4 separate regions of the Homo sapiens genome follow, and all the other regions are linked to region 2. Evidence: promoter capture Hi-C in 16 types of primary human blood cells and fetal thymus (Javierre and others, 2016). All regions are on one chromosome and are shown on one strand. Each heading gives the region's core, a stretch centred on a gene start or on the middle of the fragment in contact. The rest is flanking DNA. Distances are from core to core; before and after follow the strand shown.

Region 1 (3,087 bases), core at 490-2,989, 1.3 Mb before region 2:
CTGTGCTCCTCCAGCATGTGTAATAGCTTGCCTCATTTATGTTTTTTCTTATTCATTCATTCTCAATGGGCAAAATTTCTAATTCATTCAGTCTCTCCTGACACATTGTACTTGGCAGGTAATTCGTAATAAGCTTTAATTTTGAAAATGAACATTTGTCATTTGGGACCGTAACTTAGATAGTTTAAAAACACCAAACCCGCTGTGCAAACATCTGGAAAAGTTGATGATAGGGGACGGTTTGCTGCAGTCAACGTGTCTACCAAGCAAATGACAGAATCGGACTTAGAAAGGTCTGTTGTCAGAGCTCGCCAGTAATGATGATTTGTCTAGTAAGAGATATTAGAGGAAGAAGAGATGAAAAAAAAAGCATTTTCCATCCATTTGGCAAATGCATTTGCCATTATATGCGAGTTGCTAATTGATGCTTTAAATCTGTGATCATATGTGCTATTAAATATGAAACCTGTACACACAGACATACAGACTCATATTGATATGAGGATAGATGTCTGAGGTAAATTTAGAGATGAGAAAATTAATGCAAGATGCTTTACTTTGGAAGTAATTCCTTTGGGAATTGTCAGATGCCAGTCAGGTGCTTGTGTAAGTCACCTTTTTTTGTGAGGGCTGAAAGACCAGGAACAAGGTTCTAAGAATTTAGACCACTGGTTCTCTAGTAATGTATGCAGATAATCAAAGAAGTAACATGAAGAAAAATGATGATTTTAGTTTTAAAATATGATAATCTATTCTTCTTTAAAAATAATTAATATCACAAGACCTAAAGCCTTCTTGTTCACTCTCTTCTCCGGTAAGCTTCATTTTGAAAAAGGCTAAAAACTTTTAGGGAGATTCTCTAGGGAGTTCTGGACTTGACATGCGAAAGTGTCAGAGTCTAGCTTTCATAGTAATAGAGAGGTCAAGAATGCTGCTGAAAAGCATTCTGGGGCTTACCTTGAAATGGGATATTAAGTGGACTCCAGAATTTTAAAGGAGCCAGTCTAATACAGCTCCTTAAGATAAACTAGATGTACCTAAAATGTGACTGCTTTTAAGTAGTTGGGAGAAACAAACATGAACAGATATTTTTAAATTACAATATATAACTTCTTCCACAGAGGCACAATTAAAGTGCTAAGAAATCACTGCAGACAGAGAACCTGACACTGACAAGGAGAATTACATATGCATCAATGAGGAGCTGGCATTTTGGCTCAGTCTAGAAGTCATAGGAATTTTCCTGGAGAAAGTTTTTTCAAAGTGAATAGCATATGCAAAAATGGTAAGAACTATTGAGAAATAGAGAGATTTTCCTTGAATGCGAGTTCAGTGAGATTACAAGGTTTCCAATAGCTCCTTTTGGTAGTGAATAAAACTGAGTCAAATTTGCAGAAATCAGTAACTCAAGGGAATTCCTTCATTGGTCCTCTCACTAATGTGAGTGCATATGTGTGTGTTTTACGGGATGTGTGTGGGAGGGGATGTTTTTACTATTTCTCAGAGCCACACCCTACCTAAATATTGTACGCTCCAAGTAAATTGAGAAAATAAGTGTTGGAGATGGGGAGAATGGAAATGGAAAGATAAAGAAGAGTTTTATCTTTGAAAATAGATATTTATGGTACCTTATTTACTTTAAAATAAATGAGATACCTATTCATGCACATATCTCAGAATAATTACTGTATTTTCTAATGGGAGAAGCCTTAGAAAATATCCAGTTTATTGCCCTATTTTAAGAAATGAGGAAACTGAGTTTTAGAGAAGTTGAAACACGTTTTCCAACCATGGTTACTTGCAGATATAAAGAATAGAACTCAAATGTTTTCACTCTTAGTACAAAATTATTTCCTTTCTACCAATGCAGCTTTTAGACAAATCATCACATTATTAATTGATCAGTCAACAGTTTTTTATTGATTATACTACAATGGGCCTTATAACTGGGCTCTATAAGAAATGGGAAATAAAAAGAATGTATGAACTGAAGACAACCCATTAAAATATCAGAAAGACAAGGTAGCAGCAATTTTAAATGAGTCCCTGTATTAATTGCTGTTGCAGAACCTAATGTTACCAAATGTTCATTTGGATAAAGTGGATATCTGAAAATCATAACCTTGATTATTAGGTTGTCTGATATGTGCTGTGAATGAGAAGTAGGTAGACTTTATTTCACATGGTCATTCCAGTTGATTTACCGTGTTTTCTTCAGGCACTTTGCTGAGAAGAATTCTGAGGTCCTGTTTGATGTCAACAGAAAGAAATGCTATAATCAATGTGTAATGACAGCCATACTAGTGACAATAAGACCAGGTAATTATCAAATATGTAATCAGTATAATAATAAAATCTTATATTGTACCTTTCTTCGAAGAGCAAAGATTGTTTCCAAATTCGAGTCACGAAATTAAAACAGAAAGCCTTACTTCTTACTCCAGAGAATGACTGGATGCCAAAAGATTAAGTAAGCATCACTAATGTGCTTACATGAGACAATATTGTGGCCAATTATATTTCTATCCTGCCTACATTACTCAGATCTTAAGGTGATGTCACTATGCGTTTGAGTGTATGTATGTGTGTGTGTGTGTCTGTGTGTGTGTTATGACATTATACCTGGAGAGAAAAACAAATCACCAAGGCTGATTTCAGAAGAAGCTTTGGCATCCATATGCCACTCACCTTAATCATTTTTAAATCAGACTGTCCTTCAATCTTACGATTCAGTCAAGGAGCTAATTGTATCTTGTCAATGCCATAGATACCCTCAAAGTCCTATAAAAGATGTTCTGGGCTTATGTAGGCTGAATTAAAAGACATTCACTTGTGGTGGCTTTAAACCACATAGGATGACTCATCATATCAGTTATATCCACTTGTGCTGACGTTTGTCTTGCGTAACCATTGTGTTAAGTGCTTTCCATAAAAAGCCTTCATGCAAATCTTTTTTTTTTTTCCTGATCATTAAGGCACTTTAACACAAAGAGGTAGAACAGTACGTTGTAACCACATCCTGGGTTTGTTTCTCTGTAGGAAGATTGCTTTGTGCCTGAAAGCTGTACAGGATATTTAAAGACTAGA
Region 2 (3,317 bases), core at 133-2,632:
GCTACTCGGGCTTTTGTGGGTTTTGCCTGAATTATCCAAACAGGTCTTTGTACTTCATCAATGAAAACACACAAGGGACAAGAAATGATTTTCACGAAATTGCTTAAATTAACTGCTAAATTCCTCTGTACCTTTAAGGAAAGGAATCTGGAACACCAAGAGTTTGTGTAAGTATTTCAACTCTCAACCTCCACATGGGCGGTGTTTCGCCATAAATACTAAAAACACGTTTTGAACATGATCCCTGTATTTCAAAAGCTACTTATGAAGAAAAGTGGGACATGCATAGAAAATAAATGATGAAAAAAAAAAACAATGCCTTCTAATCCCTCCCCATGGGACGATGTTCAGTAACCAGTTTTAACCAAAGCAGGAAATACAGGAGATGGCGGGAGCGTAGGCAGAGAGCGGAAGTTTGCTAGTATCTACTTTGAAGTGTTTGAATGGACCAAGGCACGCTCTCTCCCGCCAAACTATAAACTCAGTCGCCCCAAAACACCAGCCTTCCAGCCCATCAGGTATATTACTCCACGTTTTCCTTTCTCCCGGCAGGTCCTCTACTCCCACCTCCCCCGAGAACTCCCTATTTGCTGGCTTCTCTCAACTCCCGCCACCCCCATCCCAGCCTACATTATGATCCACGCGCTGCTCTCACTTTCCGCCCTCCGCCTTTCCCGTCTGGAGTGCCTGGCCGCGCCCCCACCCAGGCCCTCCCCACGGCCCCTCTGGCTGGGAAGTGCCTGCTGCCCTTGGAAGCGAATACTCCCACCGCGCCCTCCCCCACCCTCTCCTCCGGCTCCAGGCCTTCCTCGGGAACCGAGGCCACGAGGTCCGCGGTTCACTCCCGCCCGACGCCCTCGCAAATGACTCCCGCTCGGTTCGGCCTGGGGGAGGAGGCGCCCTCATGGCTACTGCAGGCCTCTCCACCCTCCGGACTGGGCTGGGCAGCGGCCCCGTCGCACGCAACCCCCCGCGCCCTTGCCGGGCCGAACGGGCGCCGCGCTTCTCCTACCCGCCGCTAGTGAACCCAGCCCAGAGAGAAACAAAGGCTCGGGCTCCAGGACCCGCTCGGCCAGGCCAGCCCCGGCCCGCTCCCTGCCAGGACCCCAACAAAGCCCGAGCTGCCGCCTCGCGCCCCCGGCCTGGCTTACCCATCGGTCCCCGCACGCTTCTTGCCAGAGGGGTAATCCTCCCCTAGGTCCAACCGGTGCCGCTTGGACATCCTCGCACTCTTCGAACGGGCAGTTATTAAGGAAGAAAGCTGGCTGCTGTATGGGCACAGTCGAGGACAGCCACTTAACTCTGGAGGACCCCCACCCCTCCCGCTACTACAGCCCACACGGTGCGGCCGGAACCAACAGCTAAAATGGCGGCGGCGACGAGGGCTGGGCCTGCGCGCGCGCGCGCTTCCGCAGCGTGCGTGCGTGCGAGTGTGCGTGTGAGCGAGGTGCGCGCGCACGACGCCCAAAGGCGGGAACTCCTGTCCCGCCCGCTGCCTCATTGGTCCGACCTTTCTTGGGTCTCCTCCCTCTTCCTGTAGCTTTCCCCTCCTCGGAGCGGCTGTTAGGAAGAACCTGAAGGCCTTCACTTTCCATTTCAGGCTATCCTTGCCCCTCTGAGTCAAGAAATTGAGAAAGTCTAGTCCTAGTTAGGAAATCCTATTCATTTCTATTACCCCGGCTTTAAGGGAATCTCAGACCCAGAGAGGTTGAGAAACGAATGAAGATCGTACAGCTAATAAGTGGCAGAGCCGGGATTGGAACCCAGCTATTTAGTAACTCCAGATCTGGAACTTGCGGCCACTGCGCTACCCTCAGTTGCAGTGAGGGGCCGCGCGATGGTTCACGCCTGTAATCCCAACGCTTTGGGAGACCGAGGCGGGTGGATCACGAGGTCAGGAGTTCGAGACCAGCCTGGCCAACACGGTGAAACCCCGTCTCTACTAAAAATACAAAAATTAGCTGGGCGTGGTGGCGTACGCCTGTAATCCCAGCTACTCGGTAGGCTGAGGCAGGAGAATCGCTTGAACCTGGGAGGCGGAGGTTGCGGTGAGACGAGATCACACCAGTGCACTCCAGCCTGGACGACAGAACAAGACTCCGACTTGAAAGAAAAAAAAAAATCAATTGCAGTGAGGAAACTGAAGTGAGAAAATGTTAAGGCTTGTCATGATCTATTTTGCCCTTTTCTTGCCCAGCACGGACACCATGCACCCAAGCTATAGATGTTTTTAACTAGAATACAGAGAATTCGCAGTGAGGGCACAATTTGCTTTTTTGTTTTTTGTTTTTCTGTGCCTATTAATGCACTTTCGCAGTGTTAAATAACACCCTGCAAGGTAGTTGTTATTTTGTAGACGTAGACGCAAAGGCTGAGGAAGGTTACATCTCCTAGCCATAAGGGCTGTACCTAAAGCCATAACAAGGAGGTGGGGCAAGATGACTCTAAGGATTTTTGTGGATCTCTCCCCCTAGAATATGTCTGCTTCCTCAGTTGCATTTGTTCCCAGAAGAAATGCACAAGAAAAGATCTGTGGACCATCTGCAGCAGGGTGATCTCTGTTGTTCATGGAATGGCTTGGTTTGGCTGCCCTGGAAGACCATACTCTGGTTCTTATCCAAATCTCAGGACTGCAATTGCTAGGATTAAATGCAACTTAAATATTGCAACTGATGAGGGGTTTGTGTGTTTGTTTTGAGACAGTCTTGCTCTGTCGCCCAGGCTGGAGGACAGTGGTGCAATCTCAGCTCACTGCAACCTCCGCCTCCCGGGTTTAAGCCATTCTCCTGCCTCAGCCTCCCTCCTAGCTGGGATTATAAGCGCCCGCCACCACGCCCGGCTACGCGCCCGGCTAATTTTGGTATTTTTAGTAGAGACGTAGAGACGAGGTGTCGCCATGCTGGCCAGGCTGGTCTTGAACTCCGGACCTCAAGTGATCTGCCCACCTCGGCCTCCCAAAGTGCTGGGATTACAGGCGTGAGCCACTGCACCCAGCCAGCAATTGGTAAGGAGGGTTTTTATTTTTTTGTACCAAATCCACATTGGAAAGTCAACACAAAGAAAAATGAGTATATTTTTCACTTGTGAAATATTCAGTACAACTTTCTATCCTAAATGTACCATAGTCCCTACTTTGTCCCTGGTTTTGCTTTCACAGTACAGTAAGATATTCTGAGAGAAAGACCACATTCACATAGCTTCTATTACAGTATAGATTCTCCTTGACTTATGATGGGGTGATGGCCATCGCAAAGCCATCGTAAACTGAAAATGTTGTAAGTTGAACATGCAGTTAATATACCGATAAACCCATCGTG
Region 3 (3,461 bases), core at 962-3,461, 1.7 Mb after region 2:
TTTCTACCCAGCTCACAGGGCCAGCGGGTAGATTAGAAAGAAAACAACCAATTGCTGCCAGGCGCGGTGGCTCACACGTGTAATCCCAGCACTTTGGGAGGCCGAGGCGGGCGGATCACGAGGTCAGGAGATCGAGACCATCCTGACTAACATGGTAAAACTCCGTCTACTAAAAAATAGAAAAAATTAGCCGGGCGTGGTGGCGGGCGCCTGTAGTTCCAGCTACTCAGGAGGCTGCGGCAGGAGAATGGCGTGAATCCAGGAGGCGGAGCTTGCAGTGAGCCGAGATCGCGCCACTGCACTCTAGCCTAGGCGACAGAGCAAGACTCCGTCTCAAAAAAAAAAAAAAAAAAAAAAAAAGAAACCAATTGCTAAAGTAGAGTAGCTAAGGAATCAGAACTTGTTTCAAAGTAAGCGAAGTAGTGGCCAGACTAGGTGACTCAAGGCATGACTCAAACCCGACTCTGGAGGCTGTCTGTCAGCTCCCGGAGGCGGGGGGCGCGGTGTCTAACACGTTTTAGGAAAGTACCAGGCTTGTGGAGGGCGACAGGAAACCTCCCCGGGAGATCGGCCTGGGGCTCCTCCTGCCCTAGAGCCTGACCTCTCACTCTCCGTACCGGCAGCGACTTCCAACCTCCTGGCTTCCCCTTCCTCCGTTCGAGGCTCCCCACCCCTCGTCTTCCATCCAGCGTCACAGGGCGTGTGCGTGTTGTGTGCGAGACGCGGGTCTCCTCCCCCGCCGCCCTCCGCCCCGTGCTCCCAGCCACGCGCCTTCCCGCCCCGCCTCCGCGGCAAGCCGCTCCCTTCCCACCCCGCCCGCGCCCGCCGCCCGCCGCCCGCCTCCCGGGCACGCGCTGCACGAACGGCGCCCGGAGCTGGTCTAGGCAAACACCTGTCCTGCCTTGGCTCCGCGAGATTTGGGGCGAAAGCTTAGGCAACAGGGGCACGTTCTCGCGAGGTTTAGGAAATTTCCCACGGCCGTGTTGTGTCTGAGCCGAGTAGTGGAAGGCGGTGGGAAGGAGGTGTAGCGTGAGACTGGACTGCCCGCATTGGGTACATGCGCAGTGCCGCTCGCGCGGGCCGCGCCAATCCTGCAGCGCCTTCAACAGGTTTCGGGCGGCGAATTCCAGTTCTCCGGGTTTTGGGGCTCCCTGCGGGAGGCAGTGCTGGATCTGGGAATCTCTAGGAAAGGAAAGAGCAAAGGAGGGGAAAGATGGGGGGCTGCAGGTAGGAGGAGGGGGCGGGATTCGGGCCCTTCACCCTGCTGTTCCATGCCCGGTGGGGCCAGGTTTGCCCGGGGGCTTCCGGGATCAGGCCGCCTGAAGCGCGATTCGGGCAGCCGGCAGCGTCCTCGGCTGTGCCAGGCCCTCGGGTGGCCCGGTTCCCTGTGCAGTAGTGGTCTCAACACACACCTGGGCTCACACACGGTGGTGGCTGCGATGGGGTCTTAGAGAGGCCATGCAGCACGCGAGCGGCAAGAGCTTTGATCGGGTCCTCTGGGCAGACTCGGAGGTGGGAGAATGTGGCTCTCAATTCCAAGGCAGTTTTCCCTTCTGGAGAGAACTACTCCGCGCTCTGGCGTGTGTCTGCGAGGTGGCCATTAGGGGTGTCTTTGCTAGAGGCCTTGGCTTGACCTCATTTCACACCCAAGGAGAACGCTAAGGCGAGAGAGCTCAACTGCAAAAGTTTTCCGCTTGAGGAGCTCTGGAAGGGCCTCCTCATTAGCATGGGGGGGTGTAATGAATGAAGACAGTCCCCGACGTGTCACTTGCCCGAACCCCAGACATCTCTGGCGCTCCTGCACCAAACGCCGAGATTAGCATAAAGGAGGCGCCCAGGGAACGTTTGAATGAATGAAAATAGCTGGGAACCCAGAGTGAGCGGGAAGCCGCTTGGAAAACACCCATTGAGGAGGTGTTTCATCTAGGCCTGTGAAACGCAGCCCATTTTCCCAGGACCCCTCCTCCCTTCTCCTCGGCCCCGCCTCCTGACCCCTCCATTCCTCGTCCCCGTAGTAATCCCCTCCGGTTTTCCTCAGTCTCCACGTACGTCCCTCAAAGCGCGTCCTAAAACCCGGATAACCGGAGCGCTCCCCATGGACCACACGGAGGGCTCGCCCGCGGAGGAGCCGCCTGCGCATGCTCCATCGCCTGGGTAGGTTTCCAGGGAAGGCAGCGAGCAGGATCCCCTACTCTGCGGGCGGCGCGAGGCGTCTGGCTCTTCGCGGCGGCGGCGAGGGGAAAGGGAGCGCGGGGGCTGGGTGGAATCGAGGAGTGAGGAAAAAGGGAAGGGGCGGGGGAGAGGGACCAGGGAAGGCGTCGGGGGGAATCTCGCGAGGGTTGGAGTTTTGGCGAGAGTTTGTGGAAGATGGCGCCTGTTGTGACAGGGTAAGTCTGAGGGAATCGGAGCGCCGGGAACCGGGAAAGTTGCGGGCGTCTGGCAGCTCACGGCGGGCAGCGGGTTCGGGGGCCGCGGCGCGCTTGGCGTTCGGGGGCCCGCGGGGGCGGCGTCGCGTGCGCCGAGCGCGGCGGCGGCGGCGTGTGGCCGTGCGCTGCCGCTCTGCGCTGCCGTGGCTCAGGCTCCAGCGCGTGAGGGCGGGCGGCGGCGGCGGCGGCGAGGCCGGCGGGTGCGGGCGTGAGTGCGGCAGGGCGCGCGGGGCCCTCGGGCGCCGTGCCTCCCGCGCGCCTCCAGCGGGCTCTGCCTGGGGGCCCCGTGCATCTTTGTTCCTCGCGGCCGTTGTCGCCGCTTCGCCCCGCTAGTGCCCCCGGCCCCGGGCGCTTTGTCTTTCACCGCTACCCGCTGCGACTCTCTACCCCCGGCCCTTTGTTTCGCCGCCTTGGGCGCTTTGTCCGACCCGTGGCGTCCCGCATCCCCTCTCCATCTCCTCCCCTCCGCTGTCCTTCCTCCCGTGCCCCTTTGTTGTGCCACACTCTTGTCGTTAGCCCAGTGACCTGCCACAGCCCGGGCACCAGATTTCTGCCTTAATTGTTCTTCCATTGTCTTTCTCCTGTGGGTCCCCTCTCACCTTTCTGTATGGTCCTGGATCACCCCCCGAGGCTTTGTCTCCCCCATCCACGGGCTTATTCTCTCGGCACCCCCTTCCTCTCCCGTCATCGGTTGATTTATCCACAACCCACGGTGTACGTCTGCTGAACTGTCTCAGCCCCGGGGACTCCATCTGCTGCTTCTAAGTGCACACAAGACTCTACGGTTTGTTGTTTTGTGGGTCTGAAAGATGCATGGGATACTTAGTTTTCTCCTCCGCACCTCTTTTTCTCGGGATTTCTTGTACCCTCCCGCCCCCCTATCGCCACCCCTTTCTCTCGGGATTAAAGCGTCTCCAATTTTCATCGCCGTCTTTTTAGTGCCGTGGGTTGTTTTGCTTGGAAACAGTAGCCTTGGAAAAAGATCTGGTCTCTTGGTGGTTCTTGCGCCCCCCGGCCCCCGCCCCCCTCCTGGTT
Region 4 (3,083 bases), core at 436-2,935, 1.3 Mb after region 2:
TAGAGACCGAGTTTCACCATGTTGGCCAGGCTGCTCTCGAACTTCTGACCTCAGGTGATCCACCCACCTCGGCCTTCCAAAGTGCTGGGATTACAGCATGAGCCTACAGCGCCTGGCCAATTATCAAGCTATTATCCCAGATAGAGTTTTGAAGAACAAAAGGTGACAGAAGATATGCTTTGTTAGGAGTTCTCATATAGGAGAAACGGGGTGAATAGCTCAACTGGGCATCATTTCATATGTGTGTAGTTGATGGGGCTTGATTCTGTATTTTTCTAAAAGGTTCCCTGGTGGAGAGTGTTGACATTTTGCTATTGTTTCTTTCAGAAAAGATCTAAGTCAGAGGATAACATGAAGTTAAGCTAGGCAAAGAGATCAAATTTTAAGGACTGAGATGGATTGTTTGACAAGTAGGAGAAGCTTGAATGACAGCTGGAGTACAAGAGAAGAGAAACTTCGGGGTGGGGCAATGTTTCCTTAAGTTAATGAGGGTGTGTTGGCCCCAAAGAGGGCCTCAAAATCACCCTGCATGGCCTGTGCAGAACATGGTCTAAACCCTTCAAGAAGGTGCTTTGAGGCACCCATGCAATGAAGGAAGCTGGCATCCGGTGGCTTGTAGCAGACCTGTGGGCAGCTGATTCACCACGAGTCGTGGCTACCTTTCCTATGCACAAAACCAACACTGATTAGCAACACATCACACTCTAAATATTGATTAAGCTGAAGCTGACTTCCTGGCTCAAGTCATGTGTGTGGTTATAAGCTGTTTCCTGCCAGGAAAATAAGGCAATTAACTTGAAGAGTTCCAGCTACAGGCATGACACGTGTCCAGCCTTCATAGGTATTTTCACATGCCAGGTTGCATTAACACAAGCTAAAAATTTATCTGCATGTTCCTTTGTTTAGAAATTATGAGTTCAGAGTCCATGTCATTGTTATGTTTCCAGCTTCTAAGATAGAGTCTGACACACAGTAAGAATTTAGTAAGTGTTTCTTGCTGAAATAAAGCACTGGGGCTGGGCACGGTGGCTCATGCCTGTAATCCCAGCACTTTGGGAGGCCGAGGCGGGTGGATCACCTGAGGTCAGGAGTTTGAGACCAGCCTGGTCAACAAGGTGAAACCTTGTCTCTGCTAAAAATACAAAAAAAAAGTTAGCCAGGTGTGGTGGCGGGCACCGGTAATCCCAGCTACCTGGGAGGCTAAAGCAGGAGAATCACTTGAAACTGGGAGGTGGAGGTTGCAGTGAGCCGAGATTGTGCCACTGCACTCCAGCCTGGACAACAGAGCGAGATTCCGTCTCAGGAAAAAAAAAAAGCACTGGGCATGGGCATTTCTGCCAGGTGCCTCAGTGGCCCTGAGGGCACTTGCATATAAACCAAATGACTTGATCAGTTTTGAGTCCCCACTGCCTTCTTCTTATACTCGTAAGTTCTCTTGTAAGGGGCCCCCATCATTTCTCTATTTTTCTCCCAGCCTCGTTAATTCCTTCCAAAGAGCCCTTACCCTTTGGCACCTCATTGGTCCCTGGGGATCAGAGCTGAGCTGGGGAACTGTGAGGTCAGAGAAGGTGGCACCTTGGCACCCACCTTAACCATTTGGGGCAAACTTCTCCCAGCTATTTGGTCCCTCTAGACCTTTTCAGACAACTGCCCTACATTCTAGACCGTTTCCATTTCTCCACACCAAAAATACAAATTAAATTTTTAAGATTTCTCATCCCTCGACCCTCTGCTGAATTCCTGTTCATCTGGCAAGTTCATCCATGTTACTGTGATAATGAAAAAATACTGAGGTAAGGTCACGTATCTGTATTTCTACACCAGCTTTGTGGAGATAATGCCTTAAAAGCACAGTCTAAATGCACCGCAACTCTAAGCAAGATATTTGGGGTGAAGAGGGGCATCTGTGCCCCTCAAATTATGTGGTTTAGGCAGCTACAATAGATGTTCCACCTTGAAAGCAACATACTGATCCATTTTGCACGCAACAGAGCTGGGCCCTGAAAAATGCTTGAGCCCTCAAATATGTTTATACCAGATGTGAGCCCTCATCAAAGTCAAATTTGACAACGTCATGCACAGTCACAAAACACAGATTCTCTTGCTTTTGTGTAAATGTGCATGTATTGTAATTAAAAAAAAAAAAAAAAAAAACAAAGAAATGGGCCAGTTAATGTGTGTTCATGATAGAAGACCCCAAATAGGAGATCTAAATGCATTGAACTCAGCCTGGGAATCAAGAAACAGATGAATTTATGTATATTCTGGATGGAAAAATAAAACTATCAATATGACCTAAACTTCTTTTAGGATAACTGCATTTGATTCCTTTAAGAAAATCAATAAGAAGAGATGCTATTCAAATAACCCTCCCTTGCTCAAAGAGCTGAGAAAACTTGGCTTTGTTCTCTATCTGGTCTCCACTTGGTATTTAAGGAAGGAACAGAGAGATTGGGAAACTTTAAATCATCCACATCTTGCTACGGGAAGTTCATTGGCATGTACACATGTCTGTGGGTGGGTATGACAAGAAAACAATAACTGTTTTTCTCATTCCTGACCTTTCTGCCCCATTCTTCTAAGAAAACTGTGGCTCATGAGGGCTTTCTCTTCAAACTGGCTGGATCACATTTTCCCTAGATCAAAAAGGTAAGTGTCTTGCCTTAAAGGGCCTATTTTTGTAATTTCTGTCTACTAGATATAAGCAAAAATTCTGTTTAGGTCAACAAAGCATGCAATTAAGCAAAATGGATGATGATGTCAATACAGACTTCAAAATCAGCATGTGCTTAGGGAAGAACTTCCCAGTTGAGTATTATTCCCTCCTAAACCTGAGAGCTGGCCAGAGCCACACCATCACAGTCATGATCAATATTCCTGGTTGTGTAAGATTCTCCCCCATACTATTTAATATGCTGTTTCTTCCCAACTTACATCACACAAAGCTACCTAAGCTTGGTTTGCTCTTATTTCATTGAGTACCTACTGTGTACTGAGCACTGGGATGGGTGTGTTAAACCTTTTTCTCTCTCTGACTTCTAACCTCCACCTCTCACATGGGACCTCATAGAACTTCTCACTTC

The links. Contacts are between HindIII fragments. The CHiCAGO score rates a contact against its expected background, and 5 or more counts as called.
Region 1: a fragment that was not itself captured here is called in contact with the fragment with the promoter of DHX15 in region 2 in 1 of 17 cell types (naive CD4 T cells); the score reaches 7.9 in naive CD4 T cells.
Region 3: a fragment that was not itself captured here is called in contact with the fragment with the promoter of DHX15 in region 2 in 3 of 17 cell types (fetal thymus, non-activated CD4 T cells and activated CD4 T cells); the score reaches 12.8 in fetal thymus.
Region 4: a fragment that was not itself captured here is called in contact with the fragment with the promoter of DHX15 in region 2 in 2 of 17 cell types (naive B cells and activated CD4 T cells); the score reaches 5.6 in naive B cells.

Annotation. Positions count from the first base shown.
Region 1 is chr4:23,331,208-23,334,294 of GRCh38, forward strand. It overlaps LOC105374524 (a long non-coding RNA gene), which reads left to right. Exons shown (of 19, transcript XR_007058437.1): 15 at 1,122-1,285; 16 at 2,219-2,319. The region is part of intron 2 of LOC105374523 (a long non-coding RNA gene); the gene reads right to left. Among named protein-coding and RNA genes, the nearest start is that of PPARGC1A-AS1, 440 kb to the right of the region's middle. RefSeq lists an enhancer at 2,989-3,038. The HindIII fragment of the contact is 1,845 bases long and covers 818-2,662 here.
Region 2 is chr4:24,583,172-24,586,488 of GRCh38, forward strand. It overlaps DHX15 (DEAH-box helicase 15), which reads right to left and starts at 1,383. Exons shown (of 14, transcript NM_001358.3): 1 at 1,152-1,383. The coding sequence starts at 1,222. RefSeq lists silencers at 642-691, 892-971, 982-1,101 and an enhancer at 1,282-1,821. The HindIII fragment of the contact is 7,218 bases long and covers 1-3,317 here.
Region 3 is chr4:26,318,662-26,322,122 of GRCh38, forward strand. It overlaps RBPJ (recombination signal binding protein for immunoglobulin kappa J region), which reads left to right and starts at 2,353. Exons shown (of 11, transcript NM_015874.6): 1 at 2,353-2,387. The coding sequence starts at 2,368. RefSeq lists enhancers at 387-436, 1,527-1,576, 2,809-3,461 and silencers at 657-926, 2,397-2,526, 2,597-2,696. The HindIII fragment of the contact is 2,569 bases long and covers 928-3,461 here.
Region 4 is chr4:25,854,460-25,857,542 of GRCh38, forward strand. All of the region lies in intron 1 of SEL1L3 (SEL1L family member 3), which reads right to left. Among named protein-coding and RNA genes, the nearest start is that of SEL1L3, 7.0 kb to the right of the region's middle. The HindIII fragment of the contact is 2,534 bases long and covers 419-2,952 here.